Linked DNA regions of Homo sapiens: regions 1 and 2 are each linked to region 3. The links are contacts of gene promoters, found by promoter capture Hi-C in human tissues and cell types (Jung and others, 2019). All regions are on one chromosome and are shown on one strand. The core of a region is centred on a gene start or on the middle of the fragment in contact, and the rest is flanking DNA. Distances in the headings are between cores, read along the strand shown. Region 1 has its middle 60 kb from the start of PPP2R3A. Region 2 overlaps PPP2R3A (protein phosphatase 2 regulatory subunit B''alpha). Region 3 holds the start of STAG1 (STAG1 cohesin complex component).

Region 1 (3,749 bases), core at 790-3,289, 850 kb after region 3:
ACTCTCCTGGTGTTACTTCTGTCTCTTCTTTTTTCTCTCGCCTAGAGAGTGCAGTGGCACCATCTCGAGTTTCTGCAACCTCCACCTCTTGGGTTCAAGTGATTCTCCTCACTCAGTCCCCCGAGGGAGTAGCTGGCCTGAGTACAGGCGCCCGAGTACGGTAGCTCCCGAGTACAGGCATGTGCCACCACACCCAGCTAATTATTATATTCTTGTAGAGACGGGGTTTCACCATGTTGGCCAGGCTGGTCTCAAACTCCTGACCTCAAGTGATCCACCTGCCTCAGCCTCCCAAAGTGCTGGGATTACAGACATGAGCCACCACTCCTGGCCACTTCTGTCTCTTCTAACAAGGGAATGCCTTTCAAGCTCCATACAGCACAACAAATACACCAAGGAGAAGGAAAGACAGGGGAAGTGACCTAGGCTCCAAATACCTACCTGTCAGGGTTGTGCTTGCTGAAAAATTGTTAATTAATTTGGTGTAAAAAAATGAATGGTGAGGAGATACTTTTACAAAAGGATTTGAGTACTTATTTTGGAAAGTTCTCCTTCATGTGAAGTATCCTCTCCCAGCTCTCTAGGAAGTGTCTTCCAAGCTTAATGGGCTGGCTTTGCCCACCCACTTGTAAAACCTCTTAATGTTAGGTTACAGAGAAATGGCATAACAGAGTTAAAACTTCAGGTTAAAGATCAAGGTCAAAAGCCTTGGCTAGTTCTCATTCTCAAATGTATATGCATGGAGCAGAAAAGGTAGAAAGGCAATAGGAGGTTCTCTTGTTCTGGGGACATGGAGGGAGCCCCCATATCATTCTCTGCTAAGCTGACATCTGTCCCCAGCAGGTGTCTTAATCACTAATCCCTAAAATAGCAGCTTGTTCTCTAAGCATTCTGGGTTCCTAGTAAAAAAGTTTCTTCATTGGTTTCTTTTAAAAAGCAATAGCCAGCCTGGGTAACACAGTGAAACCCTACTCTAACAAAAATACAAAAAATTAGCCAGGCGTGGTGGTACTTGCCTGTGGTCCCAGCTACTCCAGAGGCTGAGGTGGGAGGGTTGCTTGAGCCCAGGAGGTGGAGGCTGCAGTGAGCTGAGATCGCCCCACTGTACTCCAGCCTGGGCAATAGAGTGAGACCCTGTCTCTAAAAAAAAAAAAAAAGAAAAAAAGAAGAAAGAGCAATAGCATGAAATTTGGGAAAATATTTTGGAAAGCATAAAGAATTTAACAAATCAACTTTCATCTAATTTCTTAGAGACAGACTGTTAATATTTTCTTCTATAATGTTTATTATAAATTCAGGCTAGAATATTATAAATTTGGAAATTAGAAAAAGCTTAAAGAATAACATAAAAACTGCATGTAATTCCACCACTGCCAACATTTTATTTTTCCTTCCAGTCTTTTTTCTTTACATACACATACACATGTACATACATCTATAGATAAGTTTTAAATAAAATATGAACTATACTGTCTATGTAGTTTCAGATCCTATTTTTTGTACTTAATATTACAAGTATTTTCTTCATCATTAAATGCTATTCAAGAGCATGATTGCAATTGGCCATCTGCTATTTTACTGTACCATAGTTCATTTAGCTATGACTTCAGTGTTAGACTTTGACTTGTTTCCAGCCCCTTACCATTGGAAAATAATGCCATTTTAGACATCCTTGTATGAAAATCTTTACCTAGGCTACATTTCTAGAGACTGAATTACTAGGCCAAGGACCAGGAACATTTTTTAGGCTTTTGATACATATTGCTGCTTTGTCCTCTATTTCACAAGCCCCCCGTGGACAAGGGAGTACCCATTTCTTGCAAACTTCTATTGTGAGTTGTAGTTTTTGTCTGATGCATCAAGGCCTCCCTGCTTCATGCAATCCCATAACACCACTGCCATCTTGTGTTCTTCCTCTGTGGCTTTTCTAGGAGAGAGAGGAAGCTCTCGTCCTTAGACTATTTGAAATGCTCTCCTTGTATTCCTCTAAAGTCCTTACTGCTCCATGGCTATTTTTATGTTGCTGCTTTGAGGTGATATGGATTTCCCTCAGTTTGACCAACTGGGTAACTCCTACCTACTTATTCTCTGGAGTCAGCTTGGACCTTGTGCCCTCTGTAAAGCTGCTTCTGACACTGCAGGCTGGTTTTGAAGCCTCCTCTGTGCTCTGCACGCCCTCTTCCTTCTCCGCCAGTCAAAGCACTTACACACTGTACCGTGTGCTCAGCTGTTTCCAGATGCAAGCTTCATTGTACCTTCAGTGCCTAACACTGCATTTGGCAGACATGGATACTCAATAGATGCTAACTTTATTTAAAGAATAAAGGTTAACTTTATTTAAAGAATCCTTGAAGGTTCATCTCTATTTCCATACCCTACATTCCATCCCATTCCCCCTGAATATTTACTGGGAGTTTTTCTGATTATATAATTATCTTGTAATTATGAATCCTTGTTTGAGAATCTAGAGTTGACCCTGGGGTTCCAAAAAATGAAAGAAGGAAAGGTAAAGAAATGAGGAAAAGAGAGAGAGGAGAAATAGATCAGAATATAAATTACGATACTTTACATTTCTATATTATATTACAGTTTACAAAGTTCTGTCATACACTTCAGTTTATTTTACTGTGGTAGTTCTAAGCCCTCTCTTGGAAGGACAGACCCTCGTGCTATATGCTGTTATCGCACTGTGTATGATCTTCCTTAGCACCTCTCACAGTTGTTGGCATATAATTACAGACGCTCCTCTACTTATGATGGGACTATCCTAATAAACCATTCTAAAGTCAAAAAATCTTAAATGGAACCATCATAAGTTTGGGACCATCTGTATTACCGGTCGCTGATGTATCCCCGATGCCTAGTGCAGTGCTCAATGCACTGTAGCTATTAAGTAAGTATTTATGAATTCTGAGAAAAAACATTCTTATAGTCATCTTATAAACAAAGAAATGAAGCCTAGAGAGTTGACATTTCAATCTAAGGAGTTCTACTCCAAGTTTGATTCTCTTTTCACTACATGTCAGCTAATGTTGCGGGCTTTCTCCCCCATGGGAAAAATATGAAAGTGGGTGCTATGGTTTGGATATTTGATTCCTCCAAACCTCATGCTGACATTTGATCCCCAATGTGGGAGGTGCGGCTAATGTTTGGGTCATGGTGGGGAGCCCTCATGAGTAGATTAATGCCCTCCCTGGTGGAAAGTGAATGAGTTCTTGTTGTATATTTTCCCTAAGATAGCTGGTTGTTAAAAAGAAACTGGCACCTTCCCTCTCTCTCTCTTGCTTCCTCTCTTGCCATGTGATCTGCACAGGCCAGTTCCCCTTCACCTTCTGCCATGAGTGGAAGCAGCCTGAGGCCCTCACCAGATGCAAGAGCTGGTACCATGCTTCTTGTACAACCTGCAGAACTGTGAGCCAGATGAAACTCTTTTCTTTATAAATTATCCAGCTCAGGTATTCCTTTATAGCAATACGATTGACTAAGACAAGGGGGGAAAAATGGAAGAGGAGAATAATGGAAGGAAAAGAGGGAGGCTGGGAAAAAGGAGGAAGTCATAGAAATGAAGAGAGTGGAGAGAAGTGATTTGAAGTGGACACCTTGATGATGAAGGGAGGACAAATAGAAAGCTCTAATTTCATATACGATATGGTGTTTTGTCACTCCATCAAGCTTAGTAAACCAAGATTTCAATCAGAAGTGCTGTAGTTTTAAAATCAGTCAAACATAAGAATTCAACAGTACTTTGC
Region 2 (3,954 bases), core at 920-3,419, 720 kb after region 3:
AGGAAAATACCACAATCCTAAACATATATGCACTAACACTGGAGCTCCCAAATTTATAAAACAATTACTAATAGACCTAAGAAATGAGACAGACAGTTTAACACAACAAGAGTGGGGGACTTCAGTACTCCACTGACAGCACTAAACAGGTCAAGACAGAAAGTCAATAAACAAACAATGGATTTAAACTATACCCTGGAACAAATGGACTTAATAGACATATACAGAACATTCCATCTAACAACTGCAGAATATGCATTCTATTCAACAGCACATGGAACTTTCTCCAAGATAGACCATAGAAGAGGCCACAAAACGAGCCTCAATACATTTAAGAAAGTTGAAATTATATCAAGCACTCTCTCAGACTACAGTGGAATAAAACCTGAAATCAACTCCAAAAGGAACCCTCAAAACCATGCAAATACATGGAAATTAAATAACCTGCTCCTGAATGATCACTGGGTCAAAAATGAAATCAAGATGGAAATTAAAACATTCTTCAAACTGAATGACAATAGTGACACAACCTATCAAACCCTCTGGGACACAGCAAAGGCAATGCTAAGAGAAAAGTTCATAGCCCTAAACGCCTACATCAAAAAGTCTGGGCTGGGCGCAGTGGCTCACGCCCATCATCCCAGCACTTTGGGAGGCCGAGGTCGGTGGTTCATGAGGTCAAGAGGTCGAGACCATCCTGGCAAACATGGTGAAACCCTGTCTCTACTAAAAAATACAAAAATTAGCTGGGTGTAGTAGTGCGCACCTGTAGTCACACCTACTCAGGAGGCTGAGGCAGGAGAATCACTTGAACCCAGGAGGTGCTGGCTGCAGTGAGCCAAGATCACGCCACTGCACTCCGGCCTGGCAACAGAGAGAGATTCTGTCTCAAAAAAAAAAAAAAAGAAAAAGAAAAAGAAAAAAAGTCTGAAAGAGCACAAACAGACAATCTAAGGTCACACCTCAAGGAATTAGAGAAACAAGAATGGAACAAACCAAACCCAAACCCAGCAGGAGAAAGGAAATGACCAGGATCAGAGCAGAACTAAATGAAATTGAAAAAAATAATACAAAAGAAAAAAAATACAAAAAATAAATGAAACAAAAAGCTAGTTCTTTGAAAAGATAAATAAAATTGATAGACCATTAGCAAGACTAACTAAGAAAAGAAGAGAGAAAATCCAAATAAGCTCAATAAGAAACAAAACAGGAGATATTACAACTGACACCACAGAAATACAGAAGATCATTCAAGGTTACTATGAACACCTTTACACACATAAACTAGAAAACCTAGAAGAGATGAATAAATTCCTGGAAAGATACAACCCTTCTAGCTTAAATCAGGAAGAATTAGATACCCTGAACAGACCAGCAACAAGCAGTGATATTGAAATGGTAGTTTAAAAATTACCAACAAAAAAAGTCAAGGACAGACGGATTCACAGCCGAATTCTACCAGACATTCAAAGAAGAATTGGTACCAATCCTATTGACACTATTCCACAAGACAGAGAAACAGGGAACCCTCCCTAATTCATTCTATGAAGCCGGCATCACCCTAATACCAAAACCAGGAAAGGAGGACATAACCAACCAAACAAACAAAAACCTACAGACCAATATCCCTGATGAACACAGATGCTAAAATCCTTAACAAAATACTAGCTAACTGAATCTAACAACATATCAAACAGATAATCCACCATGATTAAGTGGGTTTCATATCAGGGATGCAGGGATGGTTTAACATATGCAAGTCAATAGATGTGATACACCACAAAAACAGAATTAAAAACCAAAATCACATGATCATCTCAATAAATGGAGAAAAAGCATTTGATAAAATCCAGCATCCCTTTATGATGAAAACTCTCAGCAAAATTGGCATACAAGGGACATACCTCAATGTAATAAAAGCCATCTATGACAAGCCCACAGCCAACATAATACTGAATTGGGAAAAGTGGAAAGCATTCCCTCTGAGAACTGGAACAAGACAAGGATGCCCACTCTTACTACTCTTCTTCAACATAGTACTGGAAGTCCTAGTCAGAGCAATCAAACAAGAGAAAGAAATAAAGGGCACCCAAATCAATAAAGAGGAAGTCGGCCGGGTGTGGTGGCTCACGCCTATAATCCCAGCACTTTGGAAGGCCGAGGCGGGCAGATCACGAGGTCAGGAGATCGAGACCATCCTGGCTAACATGGTGAAACCCCGTCTCTACTAAAAACACAAAAAATTAGCTGGGCATGGTGGTGGGTGCCTGTAGTCCCAGCTACTTGGGAGGCTGAGGCAGGAGAATGGTGTCAACCCGGGAGGCAGAGCTTGCAGTCTGCAGTGAGCTGAGATTGAGCCACTGCACTCCAGCCTGGGCGACAGAGCGAGACTCCGTCTCAGGAAAAAAAAAAAATAAATAAATAAATTAATTAATTAAAAAAAAAAAGAGAAAGTCAAATTCTCGCTGTTTGCTGATGATATGATCGTTTACCCAGAAGATCCTAAAAACTCCTCCAGAAAACTCCTGGAACTGATAAAATAATTCAGCAAAGTTTTCGAAGACAAAATTAATGTACACGAATCAGTAGCTCTTCTATACACCAACAACGAGCAAGCTGAGTATCAAATCAAGAACTCGACCCCTTTTACAACAGCTGCAAAAAACAAACAAACAAACAAAAAACATACTTAGCAATATACCTAACCAAGGAGGTGAAAGACCTCTACAAGTAAAACCACAAACCACTGCTGAAAGAAATCACAGATGACACAAACAAATGGAAACACATCCCATGCTCATGGATGGGTAGAATCAATATTGTGAAAATGACCATTCTGCCAAAAGCAATCTACAGACTCAATGCAATTCCCACCACAATTCCTATAAAAATACCATCAACATTTTTCACAGAATTAGAAAAAACAATTCTAAAATTCATATAGAACCAAAAAAGAGCCCGCATGGCCAACGCAAGACTAAGCAAAAAGAATAAATCTAGAGGTGTCACATTACCTGATTTCAAACTATACTATAAGGCCATAGTCACCAAAACAGCATGGTACTGTTATAAAAATAGGCACATAGACCAGTGGAACAGAATAGAGAACACAGAGATAAAGCCCAATACTTACAGCCAACTGATCTTTGACAAGGTAAACAAAAACATAAAGCAGGGAAAGCATACTCTTTTCAAACAAATGGTGCTGGGATAATTGGCTAGTCACATGTAGGAGAATGAAACTGATCCTCGTCTGTCACCTTTTACAAAAATCAACTCAAGATGGACTAAGGACTTAAATCTAAGACCTGAAACTATAAAAATTCTAGAAGATAACAATGGGAAAACCCTTCTAGACATTGGCTTAGGCAAAGATTTCATGACCAAGAACCCAAAAGCAAATGTAACAAAAACAAAGATAAATTGCTAGGACTTAATTAAAATAAAGAGGTTTTGCATGGTGAAAGGAACAGTCAGCAAGTAAACAGACAACCCACAGAGTGGGAAAAAGTCTTCAAGATCTATACATCTGACAAAGGACTAATATCCAGAATCTACAATGAACTCATATCAACAAGAAAAAAATAATCCCATCAAAAAGTGGGCTAATGACATGAATAGGCAATTCTCAAAAGAAGATATACAAATGGCCAATAAACATATAAAAAATGTTCAATGTCACTAATGATCAGGGAAATGCAAATCAAAACCACAATGCGATACCACCTTACCCCTCCAAGAAGAACCTTAACCCCTGCAAAACCACAATGTGATACCACCTTACCCCTGAAAAAACAAAACAAAATAAAACAGTAGATGTTGGCATGGCTGCAGTGAACAGGGAACATTTCTACACTGCTGGTGGGAATGTAAACTAGTATAACCACTATGGAAAACAGTGTGGAGATTCTTTAAAGAACTAAAAGTAGAACTACCATTTTATCCAGCAATCCC
Region 3 (3,673 bases), core at 105-2,604:
ACAACATGGAAAGCTTGAAACAGTCTTTGTGGAAAATAGGAGATCAGCCAGAGATTAGAAGAAAACGCAAGAAAATTATAAGTAGGAGTCCAGTCACGAATTCATATCCAATCTGGTCAGTTATGACTTCCTCCAGCGAAAAGCCACACATCTTGCAAACCCTTGAGAGAGAAAACACAAATAGGGGTAACCTACTGGAGACAGGCCCTTAAGACTATAAAGTAGTTGAGCGATTCCATACTGAAATAGAGTTGGCTATAGCGATAGAGAAGTTAGTCATATATGGGGCTAATGATCCAGGAGAGTAAGGATTCACTTTTGTGGTGAAAAGTTGTAAGCAGGTGAAAGGTAGGGATCCATGGCCACGGACGGGCAGGTGGAGATCAGGGAAGAGGCGACGTTAAACATAAATAGTTTGTTAATGATTTCACCTTACTGATTATTTCTCTTTTGGCATCTAGAAGGCTAAGATTCTCATGTGTATTTCAGAGCTACTGAAAGTAGTCCTAGGTTGTGGAGGGAGAAATCCACTTTCACAGCTGAGTCTATCTTCTCAGTCTAGTTATATTCTCCTCTCACAAACTAGCCAATGCTGCCGCCTTATGCAAAGCCGACACCACGGAAAGATGTGCTTTACAGAGGCAGGATGACGCCAATCGGCCTAGGGCCGGCGGTGTTTCGTCTAGATTAATGGCGAGGGAAGTCCCCAATAGTCCTTTTGAAACCTTTTCACTCTTGCCTGGTGAAAGCGCTTGTCAGCCGTAAATCGCGAATACAATGCTAAGCTCTGAGGCCCTTGCTAAATCCAAGTAGGAGCAGGGATCTGCGCGGCCTCACCCTCGGGTTTCCGCAGGGCGTCTCGAGAGCTGCGGATGGGGGCAGCAGGAGCCGGGCGGGAACAGAGGAAAGCGCCGGCCCTGAGACCTAGGGAGGAGCCTCGGTGAAGGAACCCGGGGCGGGTTCCTGCCTAGATCTCCAAGAAGCTCCAAAAATGGCGGGCGGCAACTCGGCGAGCCGGACGCGCAGGCGCCACCGTGGCCGTCCTTCCGCCAGCCGCGGGCGGCCCAAGAACCGTCCACAGCGCCCTTATCCAGAAGCCTACGCCTCTCGCGATTGGCTGAACTGCGCGAGCGCTCCGTGTGGGGGCGGGGCCGCCACGCAGCGGCCACGTTTCCCGCCCCGCTGGTGCGCGTGCGCGCAATCCCCACTGGAAAGCGTTTGCGCGCGCCCCTGCCGCGGCCCCTAGCTCGCGCCTCAGCTCCCTCCCCTTTCCGGGCAGGCCCGTCCCGTCAGCAAGGCAGTGAGCACCGCGGCCAGCAGAGGGCGGTCCGGACCCAAGTCTGCAGCGGCGCCATTGGCGTGTGGAAAATGCCACCAGATGGCGGGTTAGGATTGCAGCTCCGTTGAAGGCGCGGCCCCCGCTCCCGAACCCCCGGCGACCACCCCGTAACAACCCCCCCACATCGGGAATAACACACCGGAGACTTTTGGGGGGAAACTAGGTCGATGGTCGGCGGCGCCCGGATGGGCAGCTGAGGTGAGTGCGGGCGGCGGCGACGGCGGCGGGGGGCGGGAAAGAGGGGGAATGCGGCGGCAGCGGCGCGGGGGCTGGAAGCGCCGATCCAAGATGGAGGCCGGGCGAGAGCGAGAGAGCGCGAGCGGCGAGCGGGCGGGCCGGGCGCGGGCCCCGTGCGGGGGAGGGAGGCCGCGCGGGCCTGTGCGGGGTGCGGCGGTCGTGGGCCGTCCGAGTGCCCGGAGAGACGTCTGTGGGCGCGGTGGGCACCCCGGCGTCTTCGTCGCTTGCCACCCCTCCCGCGGGCACCAAAAATTTTGCCCCCGCCCGCCCGGGCACTACGGCGACAGGCGCGGAAGCCTTTGTGGCGCGCTCGGGCCCGCCGCCAAGCCCGCCCTCCGCCCCCCCCCGCCCGGGCTCTCGGGAGTCGCCCGCGCCCAGCGGGGCCGGGCCGACGCGGGCTGGCGCGAATGCCTTCCGCCGCCTGCCGACCTGCGTTTCTGCGGTGTTTTAGCGGCGGCGGCGTCACATGACAACGAGTTCATTTCAGCGGAGGGGCCTGGGGGGTCGCTCGGCGGGGCGGCTGGCCCAGGCTTCTTGTTGGCGGGGTGGGGCAGCGGGGTGGCGGCTGGGGGAGATGCATCAATGCTGGGCTTTCCAGCTATCTGCCCTCTCAGCCCCCGACGGGGGCCTCCTTGTGAAACGTGTCCAGGCCTAAGCACTGCCCCGCTAGTTTGCCAGTCCCCTGAGAGACGAGGCCAATAAAAGTTGTTTTCCCTCCTTTCTCGAGGTGGGGGCGGGGTGGGAAACTAGAGTGCTTGGAGTTGGACCTGAGCCCCGTTTGCAGGGTCCGAACTGGGTTCTTCTTGTATGGTATGGGTACTAAGAAATTTTCAGGTTTTAGGATTGTCACGTCACCCCCATCTACCCACATTTGAAATGTTATCTGTCGATTCTCTTCACATTGCAGGGAATCGTGCTCCGGGAGTATAAGTCATAGGATAGTTTTGGACACTTACAGACAAAAAAAAAACAAAAAAAAAAAACGCAATTTGTCATAAAAAAAAATTATTTGCTGTTAAAGTTGGTGTTAAGATGGATAGAGTTTATTCTCGTGATTCTGACTAGAAAGACTTGCATCTTCGCAAAAATAGTGTTTACTTGAGAAAGTATCTGAATTGGCACAAAGTTGTGTGATTTGTAACTTATCTGGAATTTGAATGACTCTACATTTTAGTTTTCCTCGTGTTTTAAGAAAATTGCACATTCCGATGGTGAAGCACTTAGGGAAATATACAGAAGAGTGAAAATAAAAATAACTTGTTTATTGTATGGTAATGTAACGTACCTTGTTCTAATATTCATAATGTATGAGGAATTCAGACTGAAAAATTTTAACCAAGTAGGGAAATATGGAATGGAAAGAAGCAGAAATGTTATTTCCTTGCTTTTGATGATTAAGAATACTTATAAGACAAATTGTTACCCAAATAAAGTTGTAGAAGATCTACAGGTGTTTTGCCACGCATTTTCCTTTACATATTTAAAACGTACTTCGAGTAAACTAAATTAATTCAAGTGATCTACCAGTGGTCATTTTCACAAACGAACTGCTTTTGAGTGGAAATTTTTCTGTATCCACTTCAGTTTCGATGTTCTGATAAGGCTAAGGAATATTTAAATAGATGCAAAATATGGAAGTTTGTTGTGTTACTAGGATTGCCTCCTTTGAAGAGACTAATAAAATGACTGTAGATTTGATTGGCTCTTTTAAAGCCTTAAAGGCACTATGGTGTAGGGGAGAAGGAGTGGGTCCTGGACCGAAGTTACTTTGAACGTCCCCTGGGTTTGTGGTGTTCAGGGTGTTACCTTTGAGCCTTACTTTCTTTATCTCTAAAAATGGGGAGCTGGGCCCAGTGGTGCACTCCTGTAGTTCCAGCTACTCTGTAGTGAGGCAGGAGGAACCCTTAAACCCAGGAGTTTGAGGCTTACCTGGGCAACATACAAGACTCCATCTCTTTAAAAAAATAAAATAAAATGGGGATAGTATCTTACGGTGATTGTGTAACAAGATGTCTGTGAAAAACACACATTTAATTGCTGTAACTTAAAATTTACAGAATTTTGTACAGTTTTAATCTTTTTTTCCTTGATTCTGAC

What was found. The method cuts DNA at HindIII sites, captures the fragments that hold promoters and counts their contacts. A contact is called where the count stands out against the background at its distance.
Region 1: a contact is called between a fragment that was not itself captured here and the fragment with the promoter of STAG1 in region 3, in 1 of the 25 tissues and cell types used here (H1 embryonic stem cells).
Region 2: a fragment that was not itself captured here is called in contact with the fragment with the promoter of STAG1 in region 3 in 1 of the 25 tissues and cell types used here (thymus).

Annotation. Positions count from the first base shown.
Region 1 is chr3:135,903,679-135,907,427 of GRCh38, reverse strand. No RefSeq gene overlaps it. Among named protein-coding and RNA genes, the nearest start is that of PPP2R3A, 60 kb to the left of the region's middle. The HindIII fragment of the contact is 3,623 bases long and covers 228-3,749 here.
Region 2 is chr3:136,030,991-136,034,944 of GRCh38, reverse strand. All of the region lies in intron 3 of PPP2R3A (protein phosphatase 2 regulatory subunit B''alpha), which reads right to left. Among named protein-coding and RNA genes, the nearest start is that of PPP2R3A, 67 kb to the right of the region's middle. The HindIII fragment of the contact is 7,936 bases long and covers 1-3,954 here.
Region 3 is chr3:136,750,059-136,753,731 of GRCh38, reverse strand. It overlaps STAG1 (STAG1 cohesin complex component), which reads left to right and starts at 1,354. Exons shown (of 34, transcript NM_005862.3): 1 at 1,354-1,537. STAG1-DT (STAG1 divergent transcript) reads right to left here and starts at 1,061. Exons shown (of 1, transcript NR_185911.1): 1 at 1-1,061. RefSeq lists enhancers at 46-977, 771-1,090, 978-1,909 and silencers at 1,101-1,330, 1,651-2,030. The HindIII fragment of the contact is 8,035 bases long and covers 1-3,673 here.